2 separate regions of the Homo sapiens genome follow, and region 2 is linked to region 1. Evidence: promoter capture Hi-C in human tissues and cell types (Jung and others, 2019). All regions are on one chromosome and are shown on one strand. Each heading gives the region's core, a stretch centred on a gene start or on the middle of the fragment in contact. The rest is flanking DNA. Distances are from core to core; before and after follow the strand shown.

Region 1 (6,299 bases), core at 2,762-5,261:
TGGTGGCACTCCCTGGGCGGAGGCCACGTTGGACATTTGTGAACAAACGAGCAGGTTGGGGTTACAGGTTATAGGATCTGGGAAATGTGGTCTGTGATGCCATGCGCCCTGGGGGATCTCATGGAGCCCACATGGGCAGGCACCTTTTATCATGCCAAGAAGTCAAACGTGGGATGCCATGTGGGGAACATGCCCTGGGTGGGGGAATACCCTGGGTGGAGATGCCATGTGGGGAGGATGCTCTGGGTGGGGAATCTTTGTGGGGGTTGTCCTGGGTGGTGGAGCCTTGGTGAAGGAATGGCCTAGGGGGTGGCTCTGGGAGGGGGTGGCTCTGGGATGTGGATGTCCTGGGAGGGGGATGTCACCTTAGGGGGAAAGCCTGTTGCAGATGCCCTAGGAGGGAAGCCCTGTGTGAGAGATCATCTGGGTGGGGGCTGCCCCGGGTGGGGGATCATCTGAGTGGGGGCTGCCCTGGGTGGGGGATGTCCCCGGTGGGGGATCATCCAGGTGGCAGATCATCTGGGTGGGGGATCATCTGGGTGGGGGATCATCTGGGTGGAGGATCATCTGGGTGGGGGATCAACTGGGTGGGGGCTGCCCTGGGTGGGGGCTGCCCTGGGTGGAAGATCTTATCAGGGGGATGCAGTGGGTTATGGCCCTGTGGCAACCCCAAACACACACACACCAAGAAGAAGCTGGTCTCCCTAGGAGGAGGATCCACGCAGGGCAGCTTGGGGTTTGGCTCGTGGATGCTGGGGACAAGGCCTGAGCCCCAGATGTGGCTGGGCCTGACCCAGGCAGCTCCACCCCTTCCTTCCCAGGAAACACCTTTTGCTCGAGCAGTAGGAACTAGGCGTGTGTAGATTCTGCTGCCTGATCCTGGCTCCTGGCTGAGGGTTTGTGGGCTCAGATGGACTAGACACCCGGCCACAACCCTCCTGGGCATAGCCTTCTGGCTCCCCCAGCCCAGGCGGAGGCATTGAGCGACTCTCCTCACCCAGAGTGTTTTCCCGAAGGCGCTTCTGCCTGAGGGCACCAGGCTGGGCCAGGTACTGCAGGGCGCTGACCAGCACTGGCCTGGGGGCCCCAAGAGCCCCAGATGGCATCCCTCTCACACACTCCCCCTGTCTCACCAACAGCTATAAATAGACTCGGCTCTCTGCTGGCACGGCCTCTCCCGAGGAAGCTTTTAATTCTCTGCGTCCTCTGCAGGGGGTGGCTCCCACAGGCCTGGGAGGGAACAGACTGCCTGACTCTCCAGAGAGCTCCCCAGTCTCCATCTGCGATGGGTGATCCTAATTTTCTTCAGGAAGTTCTCCTGAGCCCTGCGTGTGGCGCTTTGGCCTTTGTGCCCACGGAAGCCCCCTGCGGCCCCTCCCTCCGGGCCCTGCCCAGCCCGGTGCACGAACCCTGTTTACCGATTCCCAGGCCTAGGGCAGCCACTGCCAGTGTGAGGCTTGCAAATTAGGGTAGGGGGTCAAAAGGAAGCCCCTGTTGACCATTTCTGTGAGCATTCTATGCTCATTTCCACAACGAGCATTTATAACCTCGTATAATCGCTAAAACATTTATTGCAACTTCAGGGAATTCGGGAAGATAGACCAACCGCAGCTGTAAGATTAAAACGCAGCCAGTGACCAGCGGAGCTTCCTCCACGCACACGCGGTCCAATCCCCATGACTTCATGTTTTGTGAAGATGCAAAGCGAGTTCATGCCGGCGCCTTTCTGAATCAGAGATCCGTTTAGAAACCATGAAAGCTGCAGACCCCTCCCGGGAAAACGCACACACCCTCCTGGAGCTCGCCTTCTGCAGCCGCTCCGGGAGCCCGCCCCTCCCCCACAGGCCCTCCGAGGATCACGTGGTGGGGAGGCGCTGGCACCGAGCGGCTGACAGGCGCGAGAGCCCAGTTCAAGGCGGCGGCATCAGGCTGCAGCTGCCTCACTCCCCTCCACTTCCTGCCCCTTCCCGGCCTTGGTCCAGCCCCATCTCCTAGTCCCAGGCCACAGGGAGCTGGGTCACCTCCCAGGGGCAGGGGCTGGCTGGGCGTGGGGGGAGACCTCTCCCCCTGAGAAGTCAGGCGGGGAGGGGTGGCCGGGGTGGGCGGAGGGGCCCAGTCCTCTATCGGTCCCCCAGGGGCCCTGCAAGCAGAAGAGCCAATAAACATGCCAGGTGGATCAGCGGTGACACTGAGAGGGAACGCAACACCCCATCAAAACAGCAGCCCCCCAACCCCCATCAAAACAATAGCCCCCAACCCCCATCAAAACAGCAGCCCCCAAACCCCATCAAAACAGCAGCCCCCAACCCCCATCAAAACAGCAGCCCCCAAATACCCATCAAAACAGCAGCCCCCCAAACCCCATCAAAACAATAGCCCCCAACCCCCATCAAAACAGCAGCCCCCAACCCCCATCAAAACAGCAGCCCCCAAATACCCATCAAAACAGCCCCCAACCCTCATCAAAACAGCAGCCCTCAACCCCCATCAAAACAGCAGCCCTCAACCCCCATCAAAACAGCAGCCCCCTAAACCCCCATCAAAACAGCAGCCCCCCAAACCCCCATCAAGACAACAGCCCCCCCAACCCGTATCAAAACAGCAGCCCCCAACCCCTCATCAAAACAGCAGCCCCCAGACCCCATCAAAACAGCAGCCCCCCAACCCCTATCAAAACAGCAGCCTCCCAACCCCTATCAAAACAGCAGCCCCCAACCCCCTATCAAAACAGCAGCCCCCCTAAGCCCCCATCAAGACAGCAGCCTCCCAACCCCACATCAAAACAGCAGCCCCCCAGACCCCATCAAAACAGCAGCCCCCAACCACCTATCAAAACAGCAGCCCCCAACCCCTATCAAAACAGCAGCCCCCCAACCCCCTATCAAAACAGTAGCCTCCCAACCACCTATCAAAACAGCAGCCTCCCAACCCCCTATCAAAACAGCAGCCCCCAAACCCCTATCAAAACTGCAGCTCCCAACCCCCTATCAAAACAGCAGTCCCCCAACCCTATCAAAACAGCAGCCCTCCAACCCCCTATCAAAACAGCAGCCCCCCAAACCCCTATCAAAACAGCAGCCCCCAACCCCGTATCAAAATAGCAGCCTCCCAACCCCTATCAAAACAGCAGCCCCCCAAACCCCCATCAAGACAACAGCCCCCCCAAAACCCTTATCAAAACAGCAGCCCCGCCACTGCCCGGGAGGGACAGGCTTCTCACCTCCCTCGGCTCCGTTTACGTAACCGAAACCGCAGAATAAAGGGCTCCTCAGATCTTCGGGCGCTGCTCCCAGGGGTGCGGGAAGGTGTCCCGGCAGCGCCTCTCCATCGCCACAGGCCCGCGGACAGTAGCCAAGACCCGGGGCAGCTGGAGGCTCTGCGGGGGGCGGTCTGACAGCCCCACCTGCCAGGACGCGGTGGTGTCAGGACCCTGAGATGGGCCGTTTCTGTGGCCAGGGATCTCTCAAAACCTGCTGCGGGCAGTGACTTCATTCCAGCCCTCCACGCCCTAATTTCCCACGCCTCACACCGGCGGCCCCCTAGGCCTGGGAATAGGGAAACGGTTCGAGTCCCGAGCTGGGGAGGGTCTGGAGGGAAGGGCTGCAGGGGCGTCCGTGGCCGCGAAGAAAGGCCAAAGCGCCAGGCACAGGGCCCGGAGACGGTGACAGACCTGTCCCTGGCGCGGCCGACGGTGACCCCCGCTCGCGGCCTTTGCAAAGCCTCCCCGTCGCGTCCTCGCACCGAGCCCGCAGCGCCGAACTCCGGGCATCCCAATCCGGGGGCTCAGGGACGCGCGGGGCGGTCCGGGAAGGGGGCTCGGGGGAGCGCGGGGGGCAGGGGCTGCGGCGCAGGTGGCTGCTGGGGCTGACGGGCCCAGTCTCCGCCCCCGGGTGCCCCCCGCGCCGCGCCCGCGGGACCGAGCCCCGCGCCCGCTTACCTTGGAGACGCAGCGACTGCAGCGGAGGCGCCTCCGCGACTCGGCCGCGCGCGACCCGGTGCTCAGCGGAGCTCTCCAGCCGCCGCCCCGCGCCCGCCCGTCCCGCCCAGCACCGCCCAGCCCCGCCCAGCCCGGTCCCGGGCCCGCCCCCGGCCCCCAGCGTCCGGCGCCCGCCCAGCGTCCCGCCCCGCGCGCTCATTGGCAGCCCCGCCCCCGCCGCCCCACCCGGCCCGGGGACGCGCGGGCGCACCGAGACCTCTGCCTTACAAGGCCGACTCTGCTCAGGCCCCGCGGACCGCCGGGTATCCGCTCAGCGCAGGGCGCGGCCGACCCGCGGGTCGTGGGAACCGCTGGGCAGGGGGCGGCGGGGCCCCTCACCTGGCTCTGGGGCCCCCCGGGGACGACCGGACCCCGATCTCTCCGCCCCGCAGGACGCGCGTTGACGGTGCGGCGGGGGATGGATGAGCGCGGCCGCGGCCTCCTGGGGTGGGGTGGGTTGGCGGCGGGGCCTCGAGGACGGTGCGGGGCGAGCCCCGACCGCGCCCAGTTCTTTAAGGAGCCGCAGACGGTGCAGGGAAGCGGCAGGGCCGGGCTGTGAGGGTGCTCGGACCCCAAGGCGGGGCGCACCCAGGGGACTGGGCTTCCAGGTGGGGGCAGCGCGGCCGGGGATCGACCTGAGCAGGGAGACGGGTCCGTGCCGGGCGCCCAGCGCAGCTGCTCGGGAGTGGGCCGCCCTTCACGCAGGAGTGGAGGAGCGGAGCGCGCACCCCTGACCCCGGCCTCAGCTTCCGTTCTCCCTGCAGGTCGCCCGTATGCAGCGCCACCATCCCGGCCGCTCTTCCAATCTCGCCTTTCTCCGGGCACCTGCCGCCCCTCCCCCGCTCCCCAGACAGGCTTTGCGGAGGGGGCTCATTCCGCCCGGGGCTGCCCGGCCCTCCGCAGGAGTTGGCTCCCCACAAGGTTCCGGGGCCGAGATGACAGGGCGGTTCTGTGGTGCTGGGTGCTGGGACTTGAGGGGCATAGGGGCACCTGCCCTGGAGGAGGCCGAGGCGCAGCCCCCCAGGAGGAAGGGGTGCCTCTGGTGACTTTCAGCTGGACTCTTCCAGCTGGACTCTAGTGCAGCTGAGCTCCTCCCCCAGCCCCGGCTCTGTCCCTGCACCAGGTGTCCAGCAGGCCCTGGAATCCGCAAAGGCAGAAGGGGAAGTTGGGGTGCTGGGTGCTGGGCAGGGGGTGCTGAGGCCTCACAGCCCGGCGGCTTGGCCCCCACCCACCCCACGGTGGTCCCGCGCCCCACACTTCCTCTCCTCTCCTGTGGTTTCTCCTTCCACTCAGTGCTGCCCAGAGATGGGCTTCTGTCTAGTTCTCCTGAGAAATTCCACACTCGCAGCTGGGAAGTCGGGGGACCCCCGAAGCTGTGCGGCGGCCACGCTGCGGCTCCTGCTTCCCTCCTGCTCGGGTGCGGGCTCGGCTGCCTTCTCGTCCCGCGGAGCCCGGAGTGCCTCCCCCTCGGGTAGATCCTACTAACAGCATCAAAGAAATAATGAAATAATCTCTCCTTGGTGTGTTCTTACCGTCCTAATAGGCACAAGGGGACTCTTCAGTGCATTTTCCAAAACCTGTACAAACTCTCTTGACATAAATGCAGTGAGTTTACAATAAAATCGCAGTGGGAGGTAACGTCAGGCTTCAGAGGCAGACATGGTCCTGGAGCCTTTGGGAGGAGAGGAGAGGAGAGGCAGCGGGCGCGGGGCGGCGTCCAGGGGGCTGAGCGAGGTCTGGGCAGGAGGACAGAGCTGAGCCTTGGGCTGCCCTGGCCCCTGCGCAGGACACACAGTGACCGGGGCTGGGGTGGGCACCCCGGTTCTACCGTCGGGAGTCGGCGTGTTCATGGAGTCTGTTTCCTTGTCTGTGGGTGAAACTTTGGCTTGGGGTCACGGGTGTGTTATTTCCCAGCGACAGTCGGTTCAGTCAGCACTTACAAAATCACCAGAAACAGGGGCACAGGATCTTGCTCAGCAGGGAGAGGTGGATCCTGATTCGGGACTCCAGGCTCTTCACCTGGCCATGGCTGCCCGTCCGGTGGCCCTTCCTGGCCCCCAGCTCTTGCTCCACTGCCAGACCTGGACAGCCTCCATTAACCCTGCAATTACTGAAAACCGACTCACAGCCAATGATGTGATCCACGCCAAGTGTCCCGTTATAAGATGTTTCCTGGGGATCCTTAGAAAATCACTACAAATGGGTTGAACAACAGGGCTTTCCTCTTACGGCTTAGGAGGCCAGAAGTCCGAGATCAAGGCCTGTGCGCTCCGGAGGTTCCCACCTCTTCCAGCTTCTGTGGCTCCAGGCGGTCCTGGGTGGT
Region 2 (6,314 bases), core at 3,217-5,716, 110 kb after region 1:
GATAGGGGAGCAAATGAATGACTTAAAGTTGGAATTTATACCAAAAGGAAGCAGGCTGTAAAAGTTTGGAAAATTTGCAGCTTAGCCATGTGGTAGAGAAAGAAAAAAATGTTTTCAGGAGAGGAATCCAAACAGGCTGCAGAACAACCACTTACTAGAGAGATTTGCATGGCTAAAAGGGAGCCAAGTGCTAATATCCAAGACAATGGGAAAAAGACCTTGAAGACATTTCAAAGATCTTCGCAGCAGCCCCTCCCATCACAGGCCCAGAGGCCTAGGAGAAAAGAATGGCTTAATGGGCCAGGACTAGGACCCTGATGCCCTGTGCAGCCTCGGGACACTGGTCCCTGTATCCCAACTTCTTCAGCTACAGTGGTGGTTCAACAGTCTCCAGGTACAGTGTGGACTGCTGCTCTAGAGGGTAAGCCTTGCTGGCTTCCAAGTGGTGTGAAATCTGCAGGAACACAGAACACAAGAGTGAAGGGGCATTGGCAGCTTCCCCCTAGATTACAGAGGATGTGTTGGAAAACCTGGGTGCCCAGGCAGAAGCCTGCTGCAGCAGCAGAGCCCTCACAGAGATACCCTATGAGGGCAATGCTGAGAGGAGAGGTAGGGTTGGAGCCCCACACAGACTCCCCACCAGGGCACTGCCTAGTGGAGCTGTCAGCAGAGGGCTTCTGCCCTCCAGACCCCAGAATGTTTGATCTACTGGCAGCTTGCAACCTCAGCCTGGAAAAGCCACAAGTACTCAACTCTAACCCATGAGATTGGCTGCAGGAGCCACAACCTGCAAAGCCACAGGGGTGGAGTTGTACAAGGCCCTGGGAGCCCACACCTCACACCAGTGTGCCTCATGGAGTCAGAGGAGATTATTTTGGAACTTTAAGGTTTAATGTCTGCCCTGCTGAGTTTCAGACTTGCTTGGAGCCTGTAGCCTCTTTCTTTTGGCCAATTTCTTCCTTTTGGAATAGGTATGTTTACCCAGTGCCTGTACCATCATTGTATCCATTGTATCTGGGAAGTAAATCACTTGTTTTTGATCTCACAGGCTCATAGGTGAAAGGAATTCATCTCCAGATGAGACTTTGGACTTGGCATTTTTGATTGAGTTGATCCTGGAATGAGTTTAGACTTTCAGGGACTATTGAGAAGGGATGATTATATGTTGCAAGGCGAGCTGGACATGAGATTTGAGGGACCAGGGATGGAATGATAAAGCTTGGAGGTTTGTCCCCTCCAAATCCCATGTTGAGATGTAATCCCCAGTGTTGGAGGTGGGGCCTGGTGGGAGGTGTTTGAATCATGGGAGCAGGTTCCTCATAAATAGTTTAGTGCCATCCCCTTGGTGATGAGTGAGTCCTTGCTCTGGTAGTTCACTTGAGATCTGGTCATTTAAAAATGCATGGTGCTCCCTCAACCCCACCACTCTCTCTTGCTCCTGCTCTTACTACATGATGTGTTGGCTCTCACCCCACCTTCAGCCATGACGGAAGCTTCCTGAGGACTCACCAGAAGCCAAGCAGATGCCAGCACCATGCTTCCTGTACAGCCTGCACAACTGTGAGCCAGTTTAACCTGTTTTTAAATAAATTACCCAGCCTCAGGTATTTCTTTACAGAAACACAAAAACAGCCCAATGCACGTAGTAACTTATAGATATATTTGGAAAACTGATTATCTTTTAAAAAATGACTACTAAACAGATTAAAATGCAGAGTTCATTAAAATACAGAGGATGCCTCTGGTTCTCTGGTATTGACTCTTTTTGTCTACTAAGATAAGAAGTCTGGGCTAGGCTGAAAAACTCAGAATCCAGGTCTGGGGTTTCCCAGTACTATGCTCCCATTTCCCAGTACTGTGCTCCCATTTCCCAGTACTATGCTCCCATTTCCGAGTACTGTGAACTCCCCTTTCCCAGTACTGTGGGCTCCCATTTCCCAGTACTGTGCTCCCATTTCCCAGTACTGTGTGCTCCCATTTCTCAGTACTGTATGCCCATTTCCCAGTACTGTGCTCCCATTTCTCAGTAGTGTACTCCCATTTCTCAGTACTGTGCTCCCACTTCTCAGTACTGTGCTCCCACTTCCCAGTACTGTGCTCCCATTTCCCAATACTGTGCTCCCATTTTGCAGTGCTGTGAGCCCCCATTTCCCAGTACTGTGCTCCCATTTCCCAGTACTGTGCTCCCATTTCCTAGTACTGTGCTCCCATTTCCCAGTACTGTGCTCACAGGTGTGAGCCAACATGCCCGGCCCATCAGCTCTTAAGCAGCAAGAGGCCCTGCAGCTGGCTGGCTGGCTGGACAGCACAGTTAAGCAGGTGGCTGCATCCTCTGCAGTTGCTGGCAGCCCATCTTCCTGGAGATGTAAACCCTCCTGCAAGGCTGGCTCTTCTTTGGGTGTGATGAAGATGATGACAGAGATGGATGCTGGGCTCTGAGGGTCCTGGTTCCTTCGAAGGACATCCAGGGGCCTCTGAGATGATGGGCTCTGGTTCCTGGCCTGTAGCATGGGTAGGAGCAGGAGGCTTTGCAAGGTAGACTCTACAGGCAGGACCTTGATGGAGGGTGGGGTTTCAGGGTAGAAGACCTGGATCACAGGGGCACCTGAGCTCCTGCAGGACAAAACAAAGTCACTCTTTGAGCAGCCACCAGGGAGGAAGCTCAGCTCTACTTGTGATGGAAACCCACCGGTGGCTTTTACCCCAACCTGTTGCCTGGAGAGGCAGGGCTGGTTTCTGGGTGGATCATCACCTTGGCTTAGACACAGAGCCCCACTCCCAGCTGGGTCTAGTGAGAGTCCTCCCGAGCCAGGCTCCTGCCCTCCCCATCCTTCCAGAAAGCTTAGAGATGAGTGCATCACCGACAGAGGCCATTTTCTATTGTTCTTCTTCGGAAATACATCCTTTTGAAAGATAACCCATCTTTTATCACTAGATATTTTAAAAAATATTTTCTTTGGCCAGGTGTGGTGGCTCACACCTGTAATCCCAGCACTTTGGGAGTCCGAGGCGGGTGGATCATGAGGTCAGGAGATCGAGACCTTCCTGGCTAATACAGTGAACCCCCGTCTCTACTAAAAATACAAAAAATTAGCTGGGTGTGGTGGTGGGCAACTGTAGGCCCAGCTACTCAGGAAGCTGAGGCAGGAGAATGTTGTGAACCCGGGAGGCGGAGTTTGCAGTGAGCCAAGATTGGGCCACTGCACTCCAGCCTGGGTGACACAGCGAGACTCTGTCTAAATACATATGTGTGTGTGTGTATATATATATATATTCTTTGTTTACGGCATTTATCAATTGAATTATGTTGTGTCTAGAATTTTATTTCCCCTTCTTGGATTCACTGGGCTTTATGAATCTGTGAGTTGGTGTCTTCTAACAATGTTGGCAAATTCTCAGCCAAATCTCCTTAAATATGACATCTTCCCAATTTTCTCTCTTTTCTCTTTCTAGGACTCTAAACATAACATAGCCTTCAAACTGTATTCTCATTCATTTTTTTCACATTTTGCGTTTCTGTCACTTTGTATCTATTTCAGTAATTTCTTCAGCTCTAGATTCTAGTTCCCTAATTCACTTTTCAACTGTCTAATTTGTTGTTAAATCCATCCACTTTAAAAAAAATCAGTGATATTTCTCATAAGTTTTATTTGGTGTTTTTCCATATCTGCTTTGTAATTTAAAAAATAGTTTTCTGTTCTCTTCAGATATTTCTGACTTTGTGTTTTCTTCATGTTTTGGTCTGCCAAATTCAACATCTGAAATATTTATGTGTCTGTTTCTACTACGTTTTCTGCTGCTTCTCACTCAGTGCTTTATTTTCACATGTGGTGGGTTGTTTTTCATTGAGAATTGCTTCTTTGCTTTGTAGTTTTATTTTTGAGAAATCTTTGAGGCTTAGGATGAAGGTTTGTTACTCAGAAGGAATTATGCTTGGCTCCTGGGAATGACCAGTTCAGAATCACTCTCTATTAAATTCTCAGCTTGGGGACTTTTGGTCACCCACCTCACACAAATTTAGGGAGAACCTGTTGCTCCAAATACTCGGCAGTGATTTTTCTCTTTTTCTTTCAGCTCTAGGGCTTGAAATGACTGATCCCCCCTGATTCCTTTGCGGGTAGAGAAGTGAGTTGCCTCTAGTTTGCCACTGCAATGAGGGTACCGCCCTCTGGGGGCCCTTACTTTAAGAGATTACTGATTGGCTTGCCATTTTGGCTGTGCTCTCAGCTTGATCTTCCATTTGTATCTCTTGAAAAGGTGAAAATGAAGTTGACCAGGTTTCACAAATGCCCTCAGGGCAAAGGCCAGCTGCACTCCCCACTAGATTTCTCTTTGGGTTCCTCTGTGCCTTCAACCATGGCCTGAGAATTCCTTATGTCTCCTCAGTTCATTAATGCCTTTAAGAATATTTACACTCGCACTCACATGGACACGGACACGCGCACGCGTGCACACACACACCCTTAACTTGCTCAGTTTCGGAGCATTGTCCGATCCTTGTAAGTGACTTGCCACATGACTAGAACCTCTGGCTTCATTTCACTCCTTCTTTCTTTCCCCTCCCTTTTCCCTTTATGCCATCGGTCTGTATTCCACGATCTTTAAAATCTACCTTAAGTACTTTCTGGGATTATGTAAAAATCAGACAACTCTCCTAGCCACCATCCTTTTCTAGAGATAGGAGTGACTGACTCCTACACCACAGGCACTTTGGAGGGGTAAGGTGTAATACTGAAGAAGTGTTTTGTGTGGTCTACAGTAATTCACAACTCTAAGACGTTATCACAGCGAACATTTGCTGTTTAAAACCTTAGTGGTGAATATTTTTTTTTTTGAATGAGGCTAATTCATTTCGAAAGCACCCTAGGAAGACCAGATGCTTTTGAAATGATTTAGACTCATTCAAAAATAATGCAAATGATAAAGAGCATGCAAATGATAAAGAATGTGACCTGAAATTATCTGCAACTTCAGCAGACAAGCTGTGGTTGGCTGAGTTTGGGCTTCTATAAAACACACTGAGCCATCTTGTTTCAGTCACTAATCAAGCTCTGCCCTGGGAGCTTGCTCTTTGCTGTGGTTTGGACATCTGACCCTTCCAAACCTTATGTTGAAATTTGATCTCCATTGTTGGAGATGGGGCCTCATAGGACGTGTTTGTGTCATGGGGCTGGACCCCCTATGAACAGATTAATGCCCTCCCTCTGAAGGGAGTGAGTTCATGCTCAAGTACTTCTTGCTCTAACGAACCCATGAGACCTTGTTGTCGAAAAGGGCCTGGAGCCTCCCCCAGCCCTTCGCCTCCTCTCTCTCCATGTGATCTCTGCACATGTCAGCTCCCTTCACCTTCTGCTGTTAGTGGAAGAAGGCTGAGACCCTCACCACATGCAGAGCTCAATCTTCAACTTTTCAGCCATCAGAATCATAAGCCAAATACACGATTTTTCTTTATAAATTACCCAGGCTCAAGTGTTTCTTTGTAGTAACACTGACAGACTAAGACACGCCTTGTGTCCATCACTGTTAGTCACTGTTGCTCACGGAAGGGAGTCCACAGCTCCATTTGATGCTCACATGGAAGGATGTCCACAGAAGCTGTCAGTTTTTGCAGATTATTTGCAAGTTGATGCTTCGGCCAAGCGTCCAGCTCCACTTCTCAGGCTCTGCTACTCCTCAGCCATTTCACTGTTCCACACAAAGGAAATGGTGGGAGGAGCACGTAGACTCAGGCGCTGTTCTATAGACATTCTACATGAGCTCAAGTTGTAGCTTCTTAAGTTTGTCCTCCATACCACTGAGACAATTTTTTACTGCACCAATTTACTTCTTCTTTCCTTGAAAGATTTTAATTTTGCAACTTCATGGTCAGTTTCTTGCAATCTTTCCACATCTCTTTCATCTCCCCTTCAATCTCAGTGGATTTGTCTTCTCATCTCAACTTGTCTCCAATTATGATTTTGACTCCTGCCTCATGAAGACCCTGTGCTATGCATCTCAAACACTTTTTTTTCTAGAGAACAATTTTCACAGGTTTGCTGTCTCTCTGGGCTTTCAAGGTGATGTCTATTCCCAGTTCTGCAAAATTTTCACAGGATATACACAGAACCATGAGTCCTACCCTCTTGTCCTCTAGGGTGCTGGTCAGGGCTGTGCTGCTGGGAGACCTTGACCTTCCTCAGGGCTCTATGGCACCCAGACGGCTGTGGGAAGCTGCCTGGAGCACAGGAACTCTGAGGATACCAGGGCTTTTGATGTTTTGCCCGATCATAGGGCTTTTCTTGTATGGATCATGCCTTTCAGGATACAGTATGCCC

Evidence for each region. The method cuts DNA at HindIII sites, captures the fragments that hold promoters and counts their contacts. A contact is called where the count stands out against the background at its distance.
Region 2: a fragment that was not itself captured here is called in contact with the fragment with the promoter of TPPP in region 1 in 14 of the 25 tissues and cell types used here (IMR-90 fibroblasts, aorta, bladder and 11 more).

What each region holds. Positions count from the first base shown.
Region 1 is chr5:689,341-695,639 of GRCh38, forward strand. TPPP (tubulin polymerization promoting protein) reads right to left here and starts at 4,012. Exons shown (of 4, transcript NM_007030.3): 1 at 3,938-4,012. LOC101929898 (a long non-coding RNA gene) reads left to right here and starts at 4,200. Exons shown (of 2, transcript XR_925675.4): 1 at 4,200-4,382; 2 at 4,741-6,299. RefSeq lists enhancers at 3,438-4,020, 4,934-5,812 and a silencer at 4,015-4,264. The HindIII fragment of the contact is 24,608 bases long and covers 1-6,299 here.
Region 2 is chr5:793,968-800,281 of GRCh38, forward strand. It overlaps ZDHHC11 (zDHHC palmitoyltransferase 11), which reads right to left. Exons shown (of 13, transcript NM_024786.3): 13 at 1,638-2,613. Among named protein-coding and RNA genes, the nearest start is that of ZDHHC11B, 12 kb to the left of the region's middle. RefSeq lists an enhancer at 239-1,099. The HindIII fragment of the contact is 6,222 bases long and covers 1,356-6,314 here.